2 separate regions of the Homo sapiens genome follow, and region 2 is linked to region 1. Evidence: promoter capture Hi-C in human tissues and cell types (Jung and others, 2019). All regions are on one chromosome and are shown on one strand. The core of a region is centred on a gene start or on the middle of the fragment in contact, and the rest is flanking DNA. Distances in the headings are between cores, read along the strand shown. Region 1 holds the start of CPED1 (cadherin like and PC-esterase domain containing 1). Region 2 has its middle 29 kb from the start of LINC02476.

Evidence for each region. The method cuts DNA at HindIII sites, captures the fragments that hold promoters and counts their contacts. A contact is called where the count stands out against the background at its distance.
Region 2: a fragment that was not itself captured here is called in contact with the fragment with the promoter of CPED1 in region 1 in 1 of the 25 tissues and cell types used here (heart left ventricle).

Annotation. Positions count from the first base shown.
Region 1 is chr7:120,985,767-120,990,331 of GRCh38, forward strand. CPED1 (cadherin like and PC-esterase domain containing 1) reads left to right here and starts at 2,945. Exons shown (of 23, transcript NM_024913.5): 1 at 2,945-3,146; 2 at 3,625-4,104. The coding sequence starts at 3,856. RefSeq lists an enhancer at 2,121-2,200. The HindIII fragment of the contact is 8,627 bases long and covers 1-4,565 here.
Region 2 is chr7:119,933,830-119,938,162 of GRCh38, forward strand. No RefSeq gene overlaps it. Among named protein-coding and RNA genes, the nearest start is that of LINC02476, 29 kb to the left of the region's middle. The HindIII fragment of the contact is 4,038 bases long and covers 604-4,333 here.

The DNA.
Region 1 (4,565 bases), core at 1,695-4,194:
GGAAGGGAGCGTATATTTTGTGTTGGAGAGGTTTGGGGAGAAAGATTGTTCTGTTTTGTCCAAGCTCGAAATGATAGGATCCTGAAAGGCCTGTTAATCTATTGTCCCAGATTAATCTGCTTAAATACAGGCCCTTGAATACTGAAATTATTTAGTGTAAAGTGTACTTTATGAAATTATATGCACAAAAGCATTTAGTCTGAAATACTGCCAGAATCTACAGCCTCGTATTTCTCGTGAATATTTACCCTCTAACCCCATCCCTAAATTAACTTGTTCTCTGTCTTTATTATTCCCTATTTTTTTGTTTGTTTGTTTGTTTTGTTTTGTTGTTTTTGAGACATGGTCTCACTCTGTTGTCCAGGCCAGAGTACAGTGGCACAATCATGGCTCACTGTAGCCTTGACCTCCCTGGGCTCAGGTGATCCTCCTACCTCAGCCTCTTGAGTAGCTAGGACCACAGGCACACACCAACAGGCTTGGCTAATTTTTTGCAGAGATGGAGTTTCGCCATGTTGTCCAGGCTGGTCTGAGACTCCTGGGCTCAAGTGATCCTCCCGCCTTGGCCTCCCAAAGTGCTGGGATTACAGGTGAGCGACATCGCAACCGGCCTCATTCACTCTTCTGACTCCTTCAAGCTCTGTCATTCCATTCGAATGTGTGTAACCTACTGCTCAGGTGTAAATACCTCTCAGGTAGAGTCTCCACATGCTGCTTTCATGCCACCCTTGCCCTTGTCCTCCCAAACCAGCATCTGCTGGTGGGTGCACTTCTATCTCAAAGAGGGAAAGGAAGAGAACTAAGAGCTCATGTTTGCTTTTGGTGTCTAGATGTTCCACGGGACTCATTATTTGATAATTATCTTTTTACGTGTCTGACACCACATCTCCCATAAACTCAGTGAGGAAGGAGCACAGCCTCAGGATTCAAACCTTAACATACATGCATTCAGCATTCATTTATCCAGCAAATACAGAATGCTTAGTTGCTTTCCATATATTATCTCAACTAGTTGTACCAACAACACTTCAAAGGAAACATTAGTATCCTTATATCACGAATGAGGAAAGCTGAGACTTTGGTCAAACCACTTGTTTAAGAACAGCTGATAAAAGGCAGTGCCATGAATCATATCCAGATTGGGTTTACTCTAAAATCAGATGCTTGTGTATCGCCTTAGTCTATTTGGTGATAATTCCTGCTATATCTCCTTTCCACCTCTTGTTTGCACCTTCTCAAGCTACCTCTTTTCTCTCTCTTGCAAATATTTCCTTACTGCTTTCTTCCACTCCCTTGGACTCAGTGGTTAAAATGGGAAATGGGGTTCTTTAATCTACTAGAATCATTTCTGGGATACTAATTTTCCACCTTCTTCCCAATTCCCATTATTTGAAGTCTAGCTATATTATCTTAAAATTTTCAATACTGTTGTCTTTCATTTCTCCCAACCGAATGGCAATTTTATTTTAGCATCTGATTTACTTTCTTCTGTACCTTGTTCTCAACAATTTAATAAAGCATAAGAATGACTCTTTAGATTCCCCAAACTCTGTTTTTCAGACTTCTTGCCTTAACAGAACTTAATAGAACTGTCTGCCTATTCCTTATCACTCAGTAACAGCATTGTCACACCCTGGATTCCAATTTAGAAATCTCACAATTCTTATTATCTCTCAAATCACATTGCATCCACCAAAACGATATGTCCTACAACACCACTGTTCAGCCATTTTCTCTTAAAACTCTTTTGGCTTCTAAAAGTGAAGCATCACTTTATTTTTCTCTATCCCATTTGTCATAAGATTAAGGACTCTGAACCTATACATAAAATAATATTAAAGCCACTGGAGGCGATACATGCAAGGGCTTGGGATAAATCCAGCTTCCGTGTGAATATTTCTTCTGTAATGTGTTAATTAATTTGTTCTATAGGATGTTAAAAGGGTTTCTTTCTCACAAGCAAGGAACTCTAGATGCCCATTTCTCTGAATCTGTGCTAGCTGGGCACCCCTAGGGGGCGCTCCGTCTCTCAAAATACAAGGGGCTGACAGCAGCGTGCCTCTGGGTGAGGCTCACTCTAGGGGTGTGGCCTCACGGAGAACCTCAACCCACAAGAGTTTGGCTTAGAAACAAGTTTGAAAACCTCTTCAGGTCCAGAGCCTTTAAATAATGCCTGCTATGCGCTAAGACAGCCCTGGGTATCCAGAGTTCACAAAGCAAGGACTGATTTCCTTTCGCCTTGACAGCCTCAGCAAAAGTGGAAGGGGGTTTGCAGAATTGCACTATTAGCAGCGTCCACCCGAAGGTCTGCACAGAATTAGACTGAGCTGATTCTGGACAAAGCCCACTGTGTACCTTTATCTACTGGGCAAAAGTTACCCCCAACACCTGCTATAATCGACTCATTTTAGGAGCAAAATGTCAGGCCATGAAGCATCAGATCATTGAAAGACCCAATTAATTAGTCCAGGAAAGGAGTAATAAGAACATCTGTGATCTGAGTTCCATACTAAGACACAGAGAGACGACTGAGTTATTCTGGTGCTTGCTGTCTGAGGTCCAGACAGTACTTGTGACCCTCTTATCCTCAGAAGAGTAACCACAATTCCCTGGAGTGAAGAATATCCCAATTCACTCATGGAGTTCACTTTAGTCTCATTCTCGACCTTTGTCACCAATTGGCTAAGGCTATTTGTTTTTCCAATTCTGTATTAGGAAAAAGAAGTTGCACAGAGGATCAGACATCAGATACGTTTCTAAATTCTGCAGCTCTGGGTGGGCAGCCTCATTTGGGGAAATGCTAGCTGCTGTTTCCAAAGTGGGGAAGCCCACGGTTTCGGACACAGGGCTGACAGCGCTGCTCCAGCAGCCCCCAGGGCCAGAGGAACCCGGCCTTAGCTCCGCCCCGCTCTGCCCGGCCCCGGGTGGCTGCGATGCCGAGGTCCTCTGCTCCCGCCGGGCGTGCAGCGGGCGCGCGCGCGTGTGTTTATGTGTCTGTGTGCGTGTGTGTGTGTGTCTCTCTCTGTGTGTGTGTGAGATGAATTGGAGTCATACGACTGGGTGTTTCCTTCCGAGTGGTTTTCATCAGCAATCCATTAGGAAATCATGGAAACTTTTTTTTTCCTGGCTAAAAGGATGAAAACTGAGTAAGTACATAGAACTTTGAACTTGAGACGGAATGAAACAAATTCAAGCAAAAACCCTGACAGTAACCATGTCCATTCAAATTGCGTATGCCCTTTTTATGTTAAAAGCCGTGAATACTTACAGGACAGTGGGAATTTAAAACTAAATGAAGGGAAGCATACAAAAGGCTGAAAGCAAGACTGCTTTAAAACCGGAGGAAAATTGAGGAACTGCTAAGGCAACCTGGCCTGAGTTCAGCTGTGCAACAGGCACTTTGGGTTTTAATCTTTTGCGTTCTTCAATGCTGTTTTCAGACTCCAGATATACTTTGGTATTGTTTTCTCTCTTCCTGCAAAGCTGAGGCAGAGTCGGACTCCTTTACTGTGAGTTGAAAGATGTGAGAATAAGGCATTGCTGGAAGCAACAGTTTGGCAGCCTGGGGTACACTCAGGTTATTCGTTACAACTATTATTATTTGATGTCTTTTTTTAAACTCAGGTCATCCACTTTTGACTGTCATCCATGGAAGAGCTCTTATTAAAAGCCTCAGACTTTCGGGACCTATGATTCTTTGGCACAACCTTTTGGAAAATTCTTAAGCAGGGATGAAGCAAACTTGATTGGAGTTGGGGAAAAAGAAGACAGATTAGTATTTTTCATGCTGACAAAAAATAGCTGCTATGACTTTTCCCGCAACGTGGACAGGGGCCAAGTGAAGCTGAACTGGTCATGGTCTGTCGCCCAGTGTTCCCTTGTCGTCGGCGATTTTGCCCCCGACCCTTCTTGGTGGGCTTAGTGGTGGCAATCTGTCTCTTCTACCAGACTCTGACCCTCCGAGGGTCGAGGAAGCTCACAGCCGCTGCCCCTGGGGCTGTCCCACACACATCCACTGAAACCCAGGCAAGCAGATGCAAGAAAGGATTCTCTCAGGACAAACAGTGCTTCCTTCTCTCTGGTAATGCCCAGGAAACCAGAAAGGTAAGACTCTCATAAGCTTAACGGAGACAGTTTCTGCAAAGACAGCAATCTGCTTCTCTGTCCTTTCTATAAAACTAAAATTAACTTCCATGAGGTCTGAAAGGGATCCAGAGTGTAAACAGCCTAGAGAGTGACCTGATGACTGGGAAACACGTTACATAAGCTTCAACTTCTTATAGTTACTTCCAGAAAGTTCTGGCATTACTTTATCTCTTAGGATTTCACTTCATTTCAGTGGAATGAAGTAGACAGTTTGGAGGAGGCATAAAATGATGTGGATTCTTTCTAAAATATCAGTATTCTAAGAGATCTGAGGATTTACAATTCAAAAACATAAATCAAAGTTTCAAAAACTTTGATAAACCTTGAGTGTCTCTTTTCTCAAGGCAGTCAGTATGAGTGCCCAGACCATTCCAGACTCAAAGATTCTCCAAAGTTTCATTTTGTAACTAGCTAGATTG
Region 2 (4,333 bases), core at 1,373-3,872, 1.1 Mb before region 1:
GTGCATGAGTTATATATTTAATGTCATATGCATATCGGTTTTACTATCTATTTGAAAAATAATTATGCTTTTAGGTGGCATATTTGCCAAGATTCTTTTCATTTTGGCATTTCTAATCATCCTGGAGTTTTTAATGTATAAAAATTATTTTTCTTTCATGTTGTAGATTACATTCAAATGGTATCTTGAACTAAATTATTAACAATAATGGGCATTTATGGAGATATCACTCATACATGAAATAAAATAGATTATTTTAGTCTTGCCATATCAGCACTGGTACTTATTCAAAACCATTATGCTTTTTCCTCCTATTAAAATTGATTACTTTGAATTTGAAATTGAGTATTTAAAGACTTAAAGAGGAAGGGCAGCAATATTCTTGATTATGCCACGGGGTGAGGGATTCAGTCCTGAAGGAAAATACTGAAGTTTCTCTATAGTTAATATCTCATCATGGAAAGTAAAAGCACTTGAAATTTTTGGACCAGGATGCAGAGAAACACAAAACATTTGCCAAAGATATAAGCAAAGCTTATTACAAGGTTGGGTTCATTGATAGTATTCACATTAATTTCTGCTGCAGAAAATAAGAGTGTCTTGAGAGCAAGGGCAAAGTTGCCTCATAAGGAGTTTTTCTTTTATTGTGTGAAAACTGCTTCAATACTCAAAGCTTAAGGGCATTTTGCTCTGGCATCACTTTGAAAATGCTTCCTTCTGCTTCAGTTACCAGAGGACGCCTAAGCTGATCTTGAAAGTGTTTACAGACATTGTTCTCATGTTCACAATTTATCAAATGCTTTTGGTGCATTACTAGAGATCTAGGCAACCTTTCAGTGCAAAGGACCATGAAACTACTCTTTCCCTAAGTTTTATAATAGCTTCATTATCTTTATTTAATGTTTGTGTAACTAATGAACCCCTAAAAATAAAACCATAAAATAGCATGATTGATCATTTGACTTAATGAGTTAATATAACAGAGATTATAGATCCAAATGAAGATTGCAGTTTTGCCAATAACTTCTAAAGAATTTTTGAAGTGATCTTCAAATCATGTCAAATATCCTTTATCCATCTTTATTGGTGGTAAATTTTGCTTTTGGAAAGAGTTGCACTAAATTAGGGGTCAAACTAGTGAATAAGTAAACAATTAAATAATTACATTTCAGTGAAAAAAATAGATTATAAGCTAAGAGGTGTATTTCCATATCTGTTGCAGGTCTGTATTCTGTCGCTGAAGAGAGTGAGGATAATTCAGATGACCCTGAGCGCCAAACAACTCAACGGTGTAAAAATAAGGCACAACCCCTGGAACTTTATAATACAAGTCATAACACAAATGAGACCTGGGTCATAAAGACCCAAAAGGAAATCAAAGAGTAGTCACAGCCCTGTGTTTGTTGCCAAATAATGTGTAAACCTTCTATTAAAAATGCTCAGTGAGTAGTTGTATTGAAATGAATTGGATTGAGACAAAACAGTATTTTCTCTCCAGAGAGAAAATTAGTATTGATTCACTTTCTCCTTGAATTATTTTCTATTAAGAAATGTATAGACAAATAAGATAAATTATCTCTTTTTGCTTATAAAATATTGTATTGGAACTCCTCATCCAGATGAATACTAAGGGGATCTTTCATAGTTCTTAAGATAAAGATTATTTTCACTCTCTAGGTTTCCACGGTATTCATTTGGGTCTATTTATGTCATTAGAGTACCCTTCTTGTTTTTACCCAAAGTCCGTATCATAAATGACTGTTAGATGTTCTGTGAAGAATACCACAAGATGGCAGTATTTCGGAAATGAATCCTTAGATTACTTCTGTATCCTATCTAAAATAACATAATAGCTTTGGTTATATTTTTAGGGACTAAAAATATTCAGTTGTCATTTCAAGTGATTAAGAATTAATGATAGTATAAAATCTGTTTAGTAATAAGTTGTTTCCTTTAAGTAATATAACTATCAGTTTGATTGTTCCAAAACATTAGTAAGCTTCATCAACATATAAATGAGTTGAAGCTAGAGAATTGTCAGTAGATTCATAAATCTCATAATTGCTTACATGTTGGTCTATAACTATAACCATACTTTTAAATTGTTTGAAAAAATAACTCATCCTAAAAGACGTCAATTATATTTTGTTTCTGCATGATTGTTTAATAACCAGTTTTAGAACAAGAAATATAAATTAGCAATTACACATATTAAGTACATCATTTATATTTTTCAAAACAGTTCAGGTTTGGATATCATCGAGCTTCTCAATTTTAATTACTCTCATAAAACTCCAAAATGTTGCTTTTAAAAGAGAATATGGTTTTAACCAAAGAAAATGCTTTCATTTCAGATTTATAAGTATGTAAAATGCAGAGGGTAGAAGGCAGAAGGGTAGCAAATAGCTTTGAAATAAAAACTGTTATTCTCTTAATGCCTGATTTTAATTTCCAATTATCTGCTCAAAATTTTTAGAAAAAAATATTGCTACAGAATAGTCTAATAGTTGATAGAGCTACATCTGGGTGATGCTAATTATTTTTCTGGTGCCAAGACTCCTAGCTGTTGAAAAGTTACCAAAACTCATGGAAATATAATCCCAATATTTTAAATATTGTAAAAGTAGTACCTGTTTCTTAATACCCATCAATATTTAATAGAATATTTCATAATGCAGAACTTGACTTAGGAAGAAAACAAACCCCAAAATTTCTATTTGTCAGTGAAAGCTATTTTTAACCAAAGAAAAGAGAAGATATAAAAATGTATTTTCTAAAATAGTATTGCCACTGAGTTATAACAACTTGAATAAATTTCATTGAATAAACTGTAAACTATTTTGTGATGTCTTGCCAGAGGTAGTACTGTGTTTCTTTTGTTTGTTTGTTTCAATTACTTTACCTCTCTGTTTGCATTAGTTATAATTATCGATATAAATACATGTTAAAAGTTTCAATTTTGAGTACAGCTGTGTAATCTGCTGCAATGTTAACCCAAGTACAGAGTTTGCATGCTTGCTAGGGTTTTGTTCCATGATATGATGTAATAACCTCTCTATTGTCCCTAATTTATCCCAGCAGTCATCCCTTGTGCTAAAATTGGTTGTATAATATGAATACCTTGAGGTTTGTATTCAGAAAATGCTAGTTAAAAGTGTACCCCTCTGAGTAAGATACAGTTAAACTACAAACATCTGGGAAGATGTAATCAGAAAAAAAGTTTAATACTACAAGATAGAGCATATCATGTACAGTGCGTCATACTTATTGGTGCAGATGTTACTCATTAAGCAGATGTCATACTTAACATACATGATTTTCTCCGCCCTAAAAAAACTAGTAGTTATCCATCATGAAAGAGATGCACAGGGTAAATTAGATCCTTAGAACAAAGAGCTGAATATCCCAAATAAAGACATTAGACATTTTTAGTACATATCAAAGGGAAGCAAGCATTCTGCCATTCTTTCAGTATTTTATTATTAAAATTTAACAAGCATGAAGAAGTTTGAAGACATTTTGAGAATTTTGTGCTGATAATTAAACACTCACTTTTTAGATTTGACAATTAAATTTTTATACATATTATACATCTTTCCACCTTTCCATTTCTGTAATGATCAGTCAATATACCTTATTGTGTATTTCAAATTAAGTTGTTGATACCCATATACTTTCTTCCAAATATTTAAGCATGCATATTATCAACTAATGTTTAATATTTGTAAACTGCTTAGGTAAATTTTATACACAACTGAATGCACAGATCTTAATTGTAGATGTCTCAGATATTCTGGCCAATGCATTCACCTGTGAAATCCAAACATTTAACAAAATGTAAAATGTTACCATCGCCTGAGAAATTTCCCTCTTGCTCTTTCAAAGTCAATACACATTCTCACCACCCCAAGAACAATGATGATTCTTTTGAATTTTCTCTACCATAAATCAATTTTGCTTTTTCCAGAAACTGAGAAAAATAGAAATAAACATTATGGTAAACATTATGTGTTATTCTATATAATGGTTTTTCATTCAACATAATATTTTTGAAATTAATATTTGTTGCTGCCTAAATATTTTATTCTTTTTTATTGCGTAATAGTATTCCATTGTATGAATATGCAGCAGATTTTTAAAAATCTATTTCCACACTGAATGACTTTCTGCTGTTTCCGGTTTGGAATGAAGCAATTATGAATAAATCAGCTTTGTTTTTTCACGTTTTTTAAAATTTTTATTCCCCTGAGCAAATATCAGAAACTGAAATTGTCAAGAAGAGGTATGCTAAGATTATAAGAAACTATCAGGCTTTTCGCCAAAAGTTAAGATG